Regions from separate parts of the Homo sapiens genome. Here regions 2, 3 and 4 are each linked to region 1. The links are contacts of gene promoters, found by promoter capture Hi-C in blood cells and fetal thymus (Javierre and others, 2016). All regions are on one chromosome and are shown on one strand. Each heading gives the region's core, a stretch centred on a gene start or on the middle of the fragment in contact. The rest is flanking DNA. Distances are from core to core; before and after follow the strand shown.

Region 1 (3,636 bases), core at 601-3,100:
GGGAAGATAAGCTTGTAATCAACATTGTCAGTATGAGATTTCACAGAACTCGGATTAGGGCTGGTTTATAGGGGGAATGTTTATGCTGAAAGATTCAGAGGCTAATGAGGAATTTCCTGGCAAGCAATTTGTGAGGAAGACCATCTGGGGAGGTATATGCCTTTTGCCATTGTAGGAGCCTGGCTTATGTATGAGGCTATGACACAGGGTTGTGGAATTACAGCTATCTGGGAACAAAAAGGAAGGGAGTTTTGACTCACTTCCCAAGCATAAATTTCCTCGGCATGCCTCTACCATACCCAGCGAATTTTGTTTCCATGTTTTGTTGAAACAAGGTGTCACCATGTTGCCAAGGCTGGTCTCAAACTCCTGGGTTCAAGTGATCCTCCAACCTTGGCCTCCCAAAGTGCTAGGATTACAGGCGTGAGTCACCATGCCTGGCCTTGTGGAGTTATCTTCTTTCTTTCTTTCTTTCTTTCTTTTTTTTTTTTTTTTGAGATGGAGTCTCACTTTGTCTTGCCCGGGCTGGAGTGCAGTGGCGCGATCGCAGCTCACTGCAGCTTCCACCTCCCGGGTTCAAGCAATTCTCCTGCCTCAGGCTCCTGAGTAGCTGGGATTACAGGCGCCTGCCACCACGCCTGGCTAATTTTTGTATTTTTAGTAGAGATGGGGTTTCACCATGTTGGCTAGGCTCGTCTCAAACTGCTGACCTCAAGTGATTGTCTGGCCTCGGTCTCCCAAAATGCTGGTATTACAGGTGTGAGCCACCATGCCTGGCCTTGTGGGGTTATTTTCGAAAGTCCTTGAGATAATTCCTATCTCAGACATGCAAGCATGAGACCTTCTCCTTGGTGTTCTCATGGCTCCAATTTGTTTGGACCTGACAATGTGATTTTGTCCTGGTATCTGCAACTTTCACAAGATGGAGCAACTAACTCAACACCAGATTCCACCCCTAATTATTCCTTCATTCACTCAAAAAGTATCTAGGCTCCAATGTGTCAGGCACCGTGTTGGTCACAGGGGATACCATGATGAACAAGAGAAGGAACCACAGGCTTTTGAATGGGAAACTAAAGCATGTGAAAAACACACGGAGAGCTGGGTGCGGTGGCTCATGCCTGTAATCCCAGTGCTTTGGGAGGCTGAGGATGGAGGATCTCTTCTGCCCGGGAGTTGGAGACCAGCCTGGACAACCTAGTGAGACCCCCGTCTCTATCAAAATAAAAACAAATAATAAAATTAGCTGGGTGCGGTGGGGTGCGCCTGTAGTCCCAGCTACTCGGGAGGCTGAACTGGGAGGATCACTTGAGCCCAGGAGTTTGAGGGTGCAGTGAGCTGACATCAGGCCACTGCACTCCAGCCTGGGCGACAGAGCGAGACCCTGTCTCAAACAAAACAAAACAAACCACCACCACCACCAGACATGAGGGCCAGTGCAGCTGAAGCCTGAAGATCAAGGGCTAGAAGAGGCCAGGCCGGGGCCAGATCAGGCAGGGCCTTGCAGGTTGTGGTTAGTTGTTTGGATTTTATTGTGAGGGAAATAACACGACATGTCATTCCTTCTGCAACAGCCTTAAGAACTAGGCGTTCTTATCCCAATTTCACAGACGAGGACGATCAAGTCGTTAATTTGTCAAAGGTCACCCGCAGGCGACAGGCGGGGACAGGGTCTGGGAAAACCCGCTAGGCACCGAGGCCCAGAGGGCGTCGGGCGTCCCCGCACCGAGTGCCGCCCGCCGCGACCCGGGAACTGCCTGCTCCCCGGACGCCAGGCCCGCCGCACGCCGCGGGGACACCGAACATGCGCCGCTCGCCTTACGGAAGCCGGGAAGGAAGGGGGCGGGGCCGAGGCTGGCGGGCGCGGGGAAAATGGCGGCGGCGGCGGCGGCGGCTGCAGCTACGAACGGGACCGGAGGAAGCAGCGGGATGGAGGTGGATGCAGCAGGTAACGGGCCGTGCGGGGGTGGCTTCCGGAGACCTCCTTCAGGGGTTCGTTGAGGCCTCCCTGTGCTCCCGGGAGAAGGGAGGAGGGCGGAGCAGCAACATCTTTCCCTGGGATAAGTTACGGGAGGAAAGTGTGGCCCGGGCTCCGCCGTCCCCCACTGCCATCTCCAGGGAAGAACGTGGGGCCCGGACTCTCACCCTCTCTCCTTTCCCTCCACCCTTAGTAGTCCCCAGCGTGATGGCCTGCGGAGTGACTGGGAGTGTTTCCGTCGCTCTCCATCCCCTTGTCATTCTCAACATCTCAGACCACTGGATCCGCATGCGCTCCCAGGAGGGGCGGCCTGTGCAGGGTGAGTGTTGGGCATAGACTCCAGTCTCTTCTCCTTGCTCACCTCCCCCAGGCAGTGGTCTTTTCCCCTTCCTCTACTGGAGCCAATTCCCCCTCCCCCAAATCATCGTTTCCCCAATACATGGTTCCCACTGATCTCAGACCCTCAGGTCATAGAAGTTTCTTTACCCTCACCTTTTCCATGTCATTCTCTTTCCCAGTGATTGGGGCTCTGATTGGCAAGCAGGAGGGCCGAAATATCGAGGTGATGAACTCCTTTGAGCTGCTGTCCCACACCGTGGAAGAGAAGATTATCATTGACAAGGAATATTATTACACCAAGGAGGAGCAGTGTGAGAGTGGAATAGATGTGGGGAAGAGGAGTGGGAGTTAAAAAAAAAATGTACAGGGTGGGGAAGATGGAGAGGGTTGGAAAGAAACAGGAGAGGAGACCAAGAACAGGGGAGAAAAAGTGAAGAGTAGCTGGAGAGATCTCAGAAAAAGAAAACGTTCAGAGTTCTTTCTCAAAAGAAAGCAAAGGATGAGAGGAGACAGGATAGAAGGGAGTAGTTATTCTAAACTGAGCCAGGATTTGAGGAGGGAGGAGAGAAGCTGGTGAAAATACACCAGGAGCTTCACATTGAGGAAGGATGGTTTAAAGAATTACTATGTCAGGCCGGGCTCAGTGACTCATGCCTCTAATCCCAGCACTTTGGGAGGCCGAGGTGGGTGGATCATGAGGTCAGGAGTTCAAGACCAGCCTGGCAAACATAGTGAAACCCCACCTCTACTAAAAATACAAAAATTAGTCTGGCATGGTGGTGCGTGCCTGTAGTCCCAGCTACGCGGGATGCTGAGGCAGGAGAATTGCTTGAACCTGGGAGGCGGAGGTTGTGGTGAGCTGAGATCATGCCACTGCACTCCAGCCTGGGCAACAGAGCGAGATTCCGTCTCAGAAAAAAAAAAAAAAAGAATTACTATATGTTCTGGCCCCTTCCCCTCTAGTTAAACAGGTGTTCAAGGAGCTGGAGTTTCTGGGTTGGTATACCACAGGGGGGCCACCTGACCCCTCGGACATCCACGTCCATAAGCAGGTATGCATGCTCACACCTGTGCATGCTGGGGCAGAGAATGGAGAATGAGGGGAAGGAGAAAGGTAGGGGGCACTGACTTCCTGTGCATTGTCCCTCTCTTCCAGGTGTGTGAGATCATCGAGAGCCCCCTCTTTCTGAAGTTGAACCCTATGACCAAGCACACAGATGTGAGTAATACTCCATGCCTACTCTGTCATGATTGTCGCTATACCTTTTACTGTGTGACACTCCTCTATTGGGGAATGCCAGATGCCACTTACCAGCTGT
Region 2 (3,636 bases), core at 393-2,892, 350 kb after region 1:
CTACTTTTGCATATTCTTGAACATTTCTGTGACTAAACGTTTTTTGTTTATTTAAAAAAAGAGGCTGACGCAGTTTTGGCATGCAGGAAGTGTTGGAGCTGAGACTCGAAACTGTCCCCCAGGCCTTGGCCATGCTGATAAATATCTAGGCCCTACAGGAGTTCGTGTCCATGAACCCAGTAAACGCAATTCCTCAGCCTTAAAATCTAGTCACTGACTCATTTCAGGCCCCAGCACAGACGAAAACAAGCCATTCTGTTTGCCCAGTTTACATTGCGGGTCTCCAAGAAGTGGAATGTTCACCAATGATTTTAAGAAAACAGGGCCTGGCGCGGTGGCTCACGCCTGTAATCCCAGCACTTTGGGAGGCCGAGGCAGGCAGATCACCTGAGGTTGGGAGTTTGAGATCAGCCTGACCAACATGGAGAAACCCCATTTCTACTAAAAATACAAAATTAGCCGGGTGTGGTGGTGCATGCTTGTAATCCCAGCTACTCAGGAGGCTGAGGCAGAATTGCCTGAAGCTGGGAGGCGGAGGTTGCAGTGAGCCAGAGATCGTGCCATTACATTCCAGCCTGGGCAACAAGAGCAAAACTCTGTCTCAAAATAATAATAATAATAATAATAATTAAAAAAAAAAAAACAGTACGAGTGTGAAGATCGGAAGGTGGAGGTGAGGGAGGTGAGAGGTCTTGGGCCTGCCCACATTCTTCCTAAGCTATTTTGGCTGGCCCAGGCTGGGAGGCCAGGAATTGCTTTTCCTCTTCAAAAGAAAAGGGGACAAAAAATTAGCTGGGCGTGGTAGCACTCATCTGTAGTCCCAGCTACTCAGGAGGCTGAGGCAGAAGAATTGCTTGAACCGGGGAGGCAGAGGTTGCAGTAAGCTGAGATTGTGCTGCTGCCCTCCAGCCTGGGTGACAGAGCGAGACTCGGTCTCAAAAAAAAAAAAAAAAAAAATGGGGAGGAGGACAGGGCATGGTGGTTCATGCCTATAATTCCAGCATTTTGGGAGGCCAAGGCAGGCAGATCACTTGAGGCCAGGAGTTCGAGACCAACCTGGGCAACACAGTGAAACCCTTTCTCTACTAAAACTACAAAAAATTACCTGGGCATGGCAGCACATGCCTGTAATTTCAGCTACTCGGGAGGCTGAGGCATGAGAATCACTTGAACCTGAGAGGGGGAGGTTGCAGTGAGCCAAGATGGCACCACTGCACTCCAGCCTGGGCAACAGCGTGAGACTCTGTCTCAAAAAAAAAAAAAAAAAAAAAAAATGGCTGGGACACCGTGACTCATGCCTGTAATTCCAGCACTTTGGGAGGCAGAGGCAGGAGGATCCCTGTGAGGCCAGGAGTTCAAGACCAGCCTGGGCAACATAGTGAGACCCAGTCTCTATAAAAAAATTAAAAATTAGCCAGGCGTGGTGGTGTATTCCTGTAGTCCCAGGTACCGGGGAGGTTGAGGTGGGAGGATCCCTTGAGCCCAGGACTTCGAGGCTGCAGTGAGCTATGATCACGCCACTGCACTCCAGCCTTGGCGACAGAGCAACACCCATCTCTTAAATATTATTTATTATAAGGCTTTTGGGCTGGGTGCTGTGGCTCACGCCTGTAATCCCAGCACTTTGGGAGGCCGAGGCGGGCGGATCACGAGGTCAGGAGATTAACACCATCCTGGCTAACACGGTGAAACCCTGTCTCTACTAAAAATACAAAAAATTAGCCGGGTGTGGTGGCATGCGCCTCTAGTCCCAGCTACTCAGTAGGCTGAGGCAGGAGTATGGCGTGAACCTGGGAGTCGGAGCTTGCAGTGAGCCGAGATCGCACCACTGCACTCCAGCCTGGGCAACAGAGCGAGACTCCGTCTCAAAAAAAAAAAAAAAAAGACTTTTGATTGGGTTAGACCTCACCAGTTAGAGATGCTCCTTTAGTTATCTGAGGCTGCTGAGTGGGGTAATCCTAGACCTGGATGCTAGTTTGAAGAAAGCAAGTCTCAGTGCTGGAAGGGGTCATTCAAGGTCATCCATGAGCTTCTGCTGAGCCAGGTGCTATAGGTGGGCTAGGTGGGACAGGAGACAGGTCAGCATCCAGGGTCCTTGAAGGGACCATGTCCTTAAGAAGAGGTAGGATGCCTCCAATGCAGTGGTCCACTGCACGGTGTGGCTGAGACTGCTACAGAGGACACATGGGAAGACCTGCCAGGGTTGGGGGTGGGGGAGGAGCAAGGGCGTCATCCTGGAAGTCACCCCCAAATAGGGCCAAGAAAGATCAGAGAGACAGCAAAGCTCTAATACCACCCTCTGCAAACCCCACCTATGGCGACCTCTCACCTCCTGTCTCCTATTCTCAAACTGGCCTATGCCTAAGGGCCAACCCAGAGACACTTCCACACTGGTCCCTGTCACACGAGACACGCTGGAAGATGGGAATGGCCAACCTCCAGACACACACACATCCAGGCTCCTATCCCCAGAGTGCGTGTTCTCATCCTACTGCATCTCGGAGGCTGGCAGGGTGAATCCCCCAGCAGGTCAGGTAGGTCTGAGGTGTCTCAGCCTGAACTCATGACTCCAAACCACCTTCACGCCTTCGTCCCAACCCAGAAGGAAGAGATCCAGGGAGGAGGGCACACATCGGGCTGCAGGCCAACACACTGACCCTGAGCCTGGCCTCCCCAGCATCAGGCTGAGGAACAGGAGGGTTGAGATGAGCCCCATTAGGTATGTGTGAAGTCTCTGGGACATGGGATGATGCCAGCTGCTGGGATGCAGAAAAGTTGGAGGCAGGGGACAGAGTCTCATTCAAAAGAATTTGTCCATAATCCAAGCTGGGTGTTGTGGCTCACGCCTATAATCCCAGCACTTTGGGAGGCCCAAGCAGATGGATCACTTGAGGTCAGGAGTTCAAGACCAGCCTGGCCAACATGCTGAAACCCCGTCTCTACTAAAAATATAAAAATTACCCGTATGTGGTAGCCCAGGCCTGTAATCCCAGTTACTTGGGAGGCTGAGGTGGGAGGATTGCTTGAACCCAGGAGGTGGAGGTTGCAGTGAGCCCAGATCATGCCACTGCACACCAGCCTGGGCAACAAAGCGAGCAAAGCGAGACTCCATTTCAAAAAAAAAAAAAAAAAATTTTAGCTGCGTGTGCTGGCACATGCCTGCAAATCCCAGCTACTCCGGAGGCTGAGGCATGAGAATCACTTGAACCTGGGAGGCAGAGGTTACAGTGAGCCGCCAGCAACTGTATCTCAAATAAATAAATAAATAAATAAGAATTTGTCTGGAATCTGGGTGAGGCAGAGGAAAATGAAAGAAACCAGAAAAGCAAAGATAAACAGATTTGCAGGGTGGGGTGGAGGATGGAGAATTCAATGGAGCTGAGCACAGCAAGGAGGAGAATGTTGGGCTGAAGGCCTGAGCTTGCTGGGGAGATGTCCTTGATGTCCACACTGGGCATAGAAGGTTGATTGATGCCAGTGGTTAGGGTCCCAAAGAGCCCAGGGACAGCTGGAGGTAGAAAGAAAGGGTGTGGAGGCACGGAAGATGGGCCCATAACCCAGGAAAAGGGAGCCACAGATAGGGGAAATGTATGCAGAAATCGCCACCCTCACTCTGGGAGGCAGGTCCCGACAGAT
Region 3 (3,636 bases), core at 695-3,194, 320 kb after region 1:
TTAAGTGTCTGTTTTCACTTGTGTCTGCTGGCTATGTCCATGTCTCTTATCTGTACGTCTGTGAGGATGGATTTGTTCATTACTTTGGCCTGAGCTCCTTCTTACCCTGAACCAGGAAACTCACCGGCAGGGAATCAAGATGGGAAGTAAAAAGAAAATATTCCCCTAAGTCAGGATCAGATTCTATCATGCCTGGCCACCTGGAGAAGATAGTTGGGTGTAGGGGACAGAAGAGAAGGGGTTAGATGAACAGAACACAACCTCATCAATGTACATGCACAGAGAAGAGCAGTATGATTTTTTTTCTGAGACAAGGTCTCACTCTGTCACCCAGGCTGGAGTGCAGTGTTACAACCATGGCTCACTGCAGCTTTGATCTGTCAGGCGCAAGTGATCCTCCCACCTCAGCCTCCTGAGGAGCTGGGACTACAGGCACATGCCACCACACCCAGCTGTTTATTTTATTTTTTGCAGAGATGGGGTCTCACTATATAGCCAGGACTGATCTCAAACTCCTGGGTTCAAGCAATCCTCCTACCTCAACCTCCCAAAGTGCTGGGATTACAAGCGTGAGTCACTGCGCTCAGCCAGCAGTATGCTTTGCAAAAAAAGGATCCAAAAAATAGATTCCCCTTCCATCATCCCCCTCTAGTGGTCACTACTGAATGACTCGTGAGAAAGTGACTTCCATCGATGCACACAGGAGCTCAGAATATACCTAGTGAAGGTATCTTACCCTTCTGAGCCATCCACAATCCTAAGAACAAAATCTTCGACTAGAGACATCTCCAAAGAAGAAACTATCCCACTTTTCCTTGTTCCCTTTACTTTGTCTCTCTCAATCTCAATATTTTTATTTATTTTTGAGATGGGGACTCACTCTGTCGCCCAGACTGGAGTGCAGTGGTGCAATCTTGGTTCACTGCAACCTCTGCCTCCCGGATTCAAGTGATTCTTCTGCCTCAGCGTCCTGAGTAGCTGGGACTACAGGCACGCGCCACCACGTCTGGCTAATTTTTCTATTTTTAGTAGGGATGGGATTTCACCATGTTGGCCAGGCTGGTCTCAAACTTGTGGTCTCAGGTGATCTGCCCGCCTTGGCCTCCCAAAGTGCTGGGATTACAGGTGTGAGCCACTGCGCCTGGCCAATCTCAATATTTTTAAATGCCTCAGATCCACCCTCTTCTTTCTACCAGTTGGGGTAGCACTATCAGACCCTTTTTTCCAGGGAGCTATCACCTCCATGCTGAAACCTCCAGAAAATACACTCTTTCAAAGCCTCCAGGCTTGGTACTTTATCTTTTCTCTCACCCCATGCTCTTTCTAAGGCCAGAACCATTTCAATTACAGATGTTTTCCATTTGCTTCCACCCCTGCTTGAATCTACCTCTCCCAAGTTTGTGAAGGATGCTCTGACTGTGTCATAATGCCCTACCAGGGGTAACCGTATTGCTTGGCCCAGATGATGGATCCTGGGATGTAGGAGGCATAGGCCACATCACTCTCAAGCCCTGTCCAGGTCTCCTCAGGAATATCACAGCGATTATACTGCACATCTGCTGAAAGAGAGAAGGAATGAAGGGACAGGAAGAGACTCTTTAAGAGAAAGAGCTGGATGAGAGCTGGGGAGAGAACAAGAAGGAAATTGGTATATGCAGCAGGTGGGACCAAAGGGGCACCTGGGAGATCAGCACAGAGGAAGAATAAAGACCCATGGAGGAAATGCAGCTGGAACCAGCTGAAATGCAGCTGGAACCAGCTGAAATGCAGCTGGAGGCAGTAGGAATGGTGCCTCCTCATACTCCAGGAAGAGATTCCACACTCCTGCTTGCATGCCCGCGTGTCTGACTGTGCTCCTGTCTATGGAGCACCATAAGAATAATTTCTCTGAGACTCTGTTTTCTCATCTGTAAAATAATTGGGCTGGACAAGATCATCATCATCTCTTCCAACTAGTTCCAAACAGCCTAGAATTCTAAGCGCACCAGATCTCTCTCGTCTGTTTTCCCCGATATATCCTATATCCCTCCCTATCCACCAACCCAATACCAATATTTTAATCAGGATTGACAGGGGCAGACCAATGCTCATGTATTTAGATTCCAGGCCCCTCCCCAACAAGATCACTTTACAGGGCATCTTCCTCCAGCCTTTTCTGCCCAGATTCATCTCCATATGAGAGGCAGATCCTTCCTCTCTCCCAAGCACTACAAGGACACTGAGTGCTAACTATATTTACGTAGTATTTAATCTAAAGGATAAGTGCAGAGAAAGAAAGGGAGGAACAATAAAACATGAATGAAAACATTTCCAGTCTTTTCTACCTGTGTTCTGATCACAGGACCAATTATCTGGGAGAACTGAGGGGTCAATGTTCCCACACAGCCGCCTCCATTTCCCACAGTTTGGGAAGGAACACTGGACCCAGACCAGACATTGACCTGTGAGAGGAAAAAAATGAAATAAGAGACTTAAAAATATGCTCTTCCTTCTTTAATCCAACTAAAATCAGGATAACCCTCCCAACTCCCAGAATGACATAGCCAGAGAGACATTAGAGATCAACCAGCCCGATCCCTGACTTATAAGAGGGAAACCAAGGCTCAAAGAGGTAACTGGCTTGCTGAGGATTAGCTAACTTGGCGATAGAGCTGAACTTAGAACTCAAGTCTCATGCCTTGATCTTTTTCCTGTACTAGGCTACCATGTCTCCCTGCCCCAAGGCTGAAAGGAATGTTTCTTGTATTGACAGTTCTTAAATTGAAAGGTTGCCTGGCATCTTTCCAGATAGTGCCTTGTTCTCTGCTGGCATGACACTACTGAAAAGTTCTTTTGAAGGGCTAACCTGCATCTCTTTTGTGCACAACATCCAGAGTTCTTATCCAAATCTCAACTGATTTACCTGTCACCAAATCACCAAGTTGCAAACTTTAGGACCAACAGTGTCTGAGTTCACTCTTCTCCAAAAGACACAGGTCTAAGCCTATCACTTCTCCATCAACTATTAACTCTGGGCCCTGCTCAAAGGCCAAGCCTTCCTTTTATCCATTACCTTCCAGACCCCCACCTCTCCTAAGCTGACCCATGTCCCTCAGCCTCTCCTCTCTCCCACCAAAACTCTTCCATTGTGGTCTTGGAAAGTCCATTGACTCGAGCAACAAAAGTCCACATATCCTCAACCTCAAATCTGAACTTCTATCTCCTTTCTGAAGCCTGGAGACCCACTAATGACACTGCCCCACCTAAACCACCCCCACCTACAACCCTGTAAGTGCAGTCAGTTCCTCTCACACTCCCCATGTCTCTTGGGACAGAAAGTCAGGCTGGCATTATCATTGCCCCATTGCTACTACTCTCCAACTCTTATAAAAACTTCCTCCCTTGAGGTCTATGCCATGGGACTATCCTCACCTCTCATCTCCCTTGTAGAGATGCTGGTATCTGATTCAGTCTTCTCTCCACCTCCTGCCTTCATTCCAAATGACCTCTACATCCACAGGAACTCCTCATACAGCACCCCATTATTTCAGTCCCTTGACTTTTTTCTTCATGTCACCTCTGGAACCCACTCCCACTCCTGCATGCCCCACCCAGTCATCTGCAGGAACTGCACACCCTCTGAGCCACTCATCCAAA
Region 4 (3,636 bases), core at 699-3,198, 280 kb after region 1:
GGTGAGCATAGTGGTGGGCACCTGTAGTCCCAGTTACTCGGGAGGCTGAGGCAGGAGAATCGCTTGAACCTGGGAGGCAGAGGTTGCAGTGAGCCGAGATGGTGCCACTGCACTGCAGCCTGGGCGACAGAGTGAGACTCCGTCTCAAAATAATAATAATAATAAAACAAAATGCACCTGCCATTTCTTTCCATCAGGTATGGCCATGGAAATGAGGGTCATAAGGGAAGCAGTGTATCCTCACAGATCCCCAGAAACGAGAGACACAGCCATGCAGGGCCACTTGGGAAAGCACCAGGGTCCCTCAGGGAGTAGAGGAAGCCAAGGGAACACAGGGGTGAGACCCTTTGTTATGCTTTCCCTGGAAAAGGCAAGGAAGGGTATGCAGGTTTAGGATTGGCTAGTTAGAATAACGTTAGCAGGCTCTGGGGATTAGAGGCTGTCATTTGTTATTTGGTGTCTGGCCCAGGATGATGAAGGCAGAGAAATACTGCCTTCTGAAGGGTGAGAGGCAGCTAGAAGAGCTGGTTCAGTGTTGGGGCCCTGGATTAGCTGGTTTGCATATGAAAGGCACACTCAGCCAGGAGCCGTGGCTCAAGCCTGTAATCCCAGCACTTTGGGAGGCCGAGGTGGGCAGATCACAAGGTCAGGAGATGGAGACCATCTTGGCCAACGTGGTGAAACCCCGTCTCTATTAAAAATACAAAAATTAGTTGGGCATGGTGGCACGCACTTGTAATCCCAGCAACTTGGGAGGCTGAGGCAGGAGAATCGCTTGAACCCAGGGGTGGAGGTTGCAGTGAGCCGAGACCGTGCCACTGCACTCCAGCCTGGCAGCAGAGTGAGACTGTTTCAGAAAAAAAAAGGGACACTCTCAGAGGGGTCATTTGCTAGCTCTAACAACTGGCTGGCTCTGGCAGGGGCAGTCCCTCTCTCTGCTCTTGGAGGTCCAAGATGCCAGAATATCAGCAATCCAGTGGGGCTTGGTGAGGTGGCTCACACCTGTCATCCCAGCACTGAGGGAGGCCGAGGCAGGAGGATTGCTTAAGCCCAGGAACTTGAGACCAGCCTAGACAACATAGTGAGACCCCATCTCTCAAAAAAAAAAAAAAATTAGCCGTGTGTGGTGGTGTGTGCCTGTGGTCTTCACTACTTGGGAGGCTGAGGTCAGCAAATTGCTTCAGCCCAGGAGTGATGGTGATCGCGTCCCTACACTCCAGTCTGTGGACACTCTAGTACCTTGAGGACAGTACAGCCTGATTACAGAAGCTTTACAGCAAGTCTTGAAGTCAGGTATTATAAATCTTCCACCTTCATTCTTCATTTGTAAAGGCCTTTTGGCTATTCTAGGTCCTTTGAATTACTGTGAGAATATTACAGTTGGCTTGTGAACTCCACAAAGCCTATGGGATGTCGATTGGGATCAGAGGAAAGCAGGAACGGTGGGTGCCAAGGAGAGGTGAGGGGCTGGGGGCAGGGACGGATGTGGCCAGTGAGGACAGTAGGATACTTGTTGGGGGAATGTGGGGACATCCAAGCAGTGGTTCTCATAATGCGGTGCAGGGTACTTACCCCCTCCCTGCCCCTGCTCCCCACACACGACTTCCCACGCCTCTCCCATGAGCACCTGCACTAAGGGGCTGCATTTAGGCTCTGCCCACATTGGAATCATGCCCTCCTCCAGGCCCTCCTCCTCCTCTCAGAAGCCCTGTCTGTGAGAGAGCCACAGCCCCAGGCTCAGTCCCAGGTTCTGTCACTGCTGTTGGGGGAGGGAGGATGAACAAATCCAGGAGACCTCACACCATCCCAGAGCAGAAATCCTGACACAGAAGGAATCTCCCATGGGGGTTCAGCTGGATCCAGGGCCTGAAAGTGACATAAACATGCATGTTGCATCTAAGGAGACTGCACGTGGCAGCATTGGGCAGCATGTGCCCTCCAGAGCTACCCAGAGGCTGTTGGCTATAAGTTCTATGTGGCCCCCACATTGGACAGCCTGGTAAGCAGGTGACCTTTCAGCCAGGTCCTCAGGTGGGGCGGGCCACCCTCTCGAGGCCCTGCCCAGACAGCCAGGGGGTCCCTTGTCCTCTCTGCAGCCCATCTTTCCAGCTGTGACCAGTTCAGCCCAAAGCCCCCGTCCCTCAGTTTCCCTGTGGGTTGAATGGAGATAATGTGTCACCTCAGAATGTTGTGAAGCAGAGAATGAGGTGTTTAGGGCCTGGCTCAGACGGAGGGGTTTCCTGAGCATGGGGAACCTGTTTCCTCAGGCCTGTAAAGGGAGGGAGGGCGGGCCGGCCTGGCTGGCCCTGGGAAGCACAGAGGAGCCTACTAGGACCAGGGAAGAGACTAAGAGAAGGGAGGCCCGTCCCTGCCTGCTTCTGTCTCAAGAAGGCTGATGTCACTTCCTCTGATGAAATCCTGTCTTCCCCCACGGCCCCTCAACTGATGCCACCTCACCCTGGAGAGGGTGGGCAGAGCCTCCTACGGAGGGAGCCCTGTGCACCACCAAAGCTCCCTGCTCCAGTGACCACCCCCGGGCAAAGGCCGGCAGATCCCCGTTAGAGATGGGCCCAGGACTGTGTGTGGGGTGGGTGTTGCTCTGAGCCTTCACTTTCTTCTGTGTCCAAGGAAGCTTCTGGATCAGCCAAGGGCTCAGGTGTGTGGAGGGAATGACCTGAGGGGCTGTATGAAGGGACAGCCTCCTGTCCTGCACTCAGAAGTTGAGGCCCAGAGATTCCACCCTTCAGCCAGGCCCAGACATCTGGGTTGAGGGGGCTCCAGTCCTGTACCCACTACTGCAAGTCACGTGGCCTGGGGCAGGGCTTCTCAGAGCCCTGTCCCCTCCTGTGTAGGGCGGGACGTCAGAGGGGAGCCTGCAGACCCAGTCTCATGTCTTGGGGGTCAAGGGGTGGCTTCCAGAAGGACCAGTCTCTGTGTAGGGGACCATTAGCCCCCTCACCCCTTGAGCAAGGTCGTGGTGCCTGCACCGAGAGAGGGCCTGGGGCAGGAAGAGGCCAGCTGGGTCGTGGTGGTGCCTGGGGACTGCATGGGAGCCCCTGCCAGGGAGGGAGAGGGACAGAGGACAAGCTGGGGGCTCTTCTGCTTGGGCTGGGGGCTGAGCACCTGTGACCTCCACCGGCTTCCTTCTCCTCCTCTCTGAGGACTGAATCTGGGGCGCAGAAGGACAGAGATTCAGGCCTGCCTTTCCTCTCCCTGAAAGAGCCTGCGCTGGCCCTGGGCAGAGAGAAGGATGAGAAGTGAGGCTGAGTGAGGTGGGGTCTGCAGGGATCCAGGTGGGAGGGGCCCAGCCAGCCAAGGTCAGGCCCAGCCCCCCAAGGTCAGGCCCAGCCCCTCGGCAGGAGGACGGGGACCGCGGCCTTTGGGCAGGGCTGACTTGGCACTGACCACAAGGGAGGCCCTTTTGCAATAGGGGAAAATAAGCCAGATGGATAAAGGAAGTGCTGGTCACCCTGGAGGTGCACTGGTTTGGGGAAGGCTCCTGGCCCCCACAGCCCTCTTCGGAGCCTGAGCCCGGCTCTCCTCACTCACCTCAACCCCCAGGCGGCCCCTCCACAGGGCCCCTCTCCTGCCTGGACGGCTCTGCTGGTCTCCCCGTCCCCTGGAGAAGAACAAGGC

The links. The method cuts DNA at HindIII sites, captures the fragments that hold promoters and counts their contacts. A CHiCAGO score of 5 or more calls a contact.
Region 2: a contact is called between a fragment that was not itself captured here and the fragment with the promoter of COPS6 in region 1, in 4 of 17 cell types (naive B cells, neutrophils, naive CD8 T cells and 1 more). The highest score is 8.3, in naive B cells.
Region 3: a contact is called between a fragment that was not itself captured here and the fragment with the promoter of COPS6 in region 1, in 5 of 17 cell types (naive B cells, total B cells, activated CD4 T cells and 2 more). The highest score is 10.0, in naive B cells.
Region 4: a fragment that was not itself captured here is called in contact with the fragment with the promoter of COPS6 in region 1 in 1 of 17 cell types (naive B cells); the score reaches 6.7 in naive B cells.

The regions. Positions count from the first base shown.
Region 1 is chr7:100,087,119-100,090,754 of GRCh38, forward strand. It overlaps COPS6 (COP9 signalosome subunit 6), which reads left to right and starts at 1,851. Exons shown (of 10, transcript NM_006833.5): 1 at 1,851-1,948; 2 at 2,172-2,297; 3 at 2,497-2,628; 4 at 3,281-3,369; 5 at 3,474-3,536. The coding sequence starts at 1,873. RefSeq lists enhancers at 1-664, 2,051-2,742, 2,249-3,448 and a silencer at 1,711-1,900. The HindIII fragment of the contact is 8,452 bases long and covers 10-3,636 here.
Region 2 is chr7:100,439,673-100,443,308 of GRCh38, forward strand. PPP1R35-AS1 (PPP1R35 antisense RNA 1) reads left to right here. Exons shown (of 3, transcript NR_187540.1): 3 at 62-205. Among named protein-coding and RNA genes, the nearest start is that of PPP1R35-AS1, 4.8 kb to the left of the region's middle. The HindIII fragment of the contact is 6,057 bases long and covers 1-3,636 here.
Region 3 is chr7:100,407,104-100,410,739 of GRCh38, forward strand. ZCWPW1 (zinc finger CW-type and PWWP domain containing 1) reads right to left here. Exons shown (of 18, transcript NM_001386010.1): 9 at 2,325-2,441; 10 at 1,436-1,556; 11 at 125-200. Among named protein-coding and RNA genes, the nearest start is that of ZCWPW1, 20 kb to the right of the region's middle. The HindIII fragment of the contact is 6,048 bases long and covers 1-3,636 here.
Region 4 is chr7:100,370,020-100,373,655 of GRCh38, forward strand. PILRA (paired immunoglobin like type 2 receptor alpha) reads left to right here and starts at 3,468. Exons shown (of 7, transcript NM_013439.3): 1 at 3,468-3,636. RefSeq lists an enhancer at 385-1,136. The HindIII fragment of the contact is 1,363 bases long and covers 1,268-2,630 here.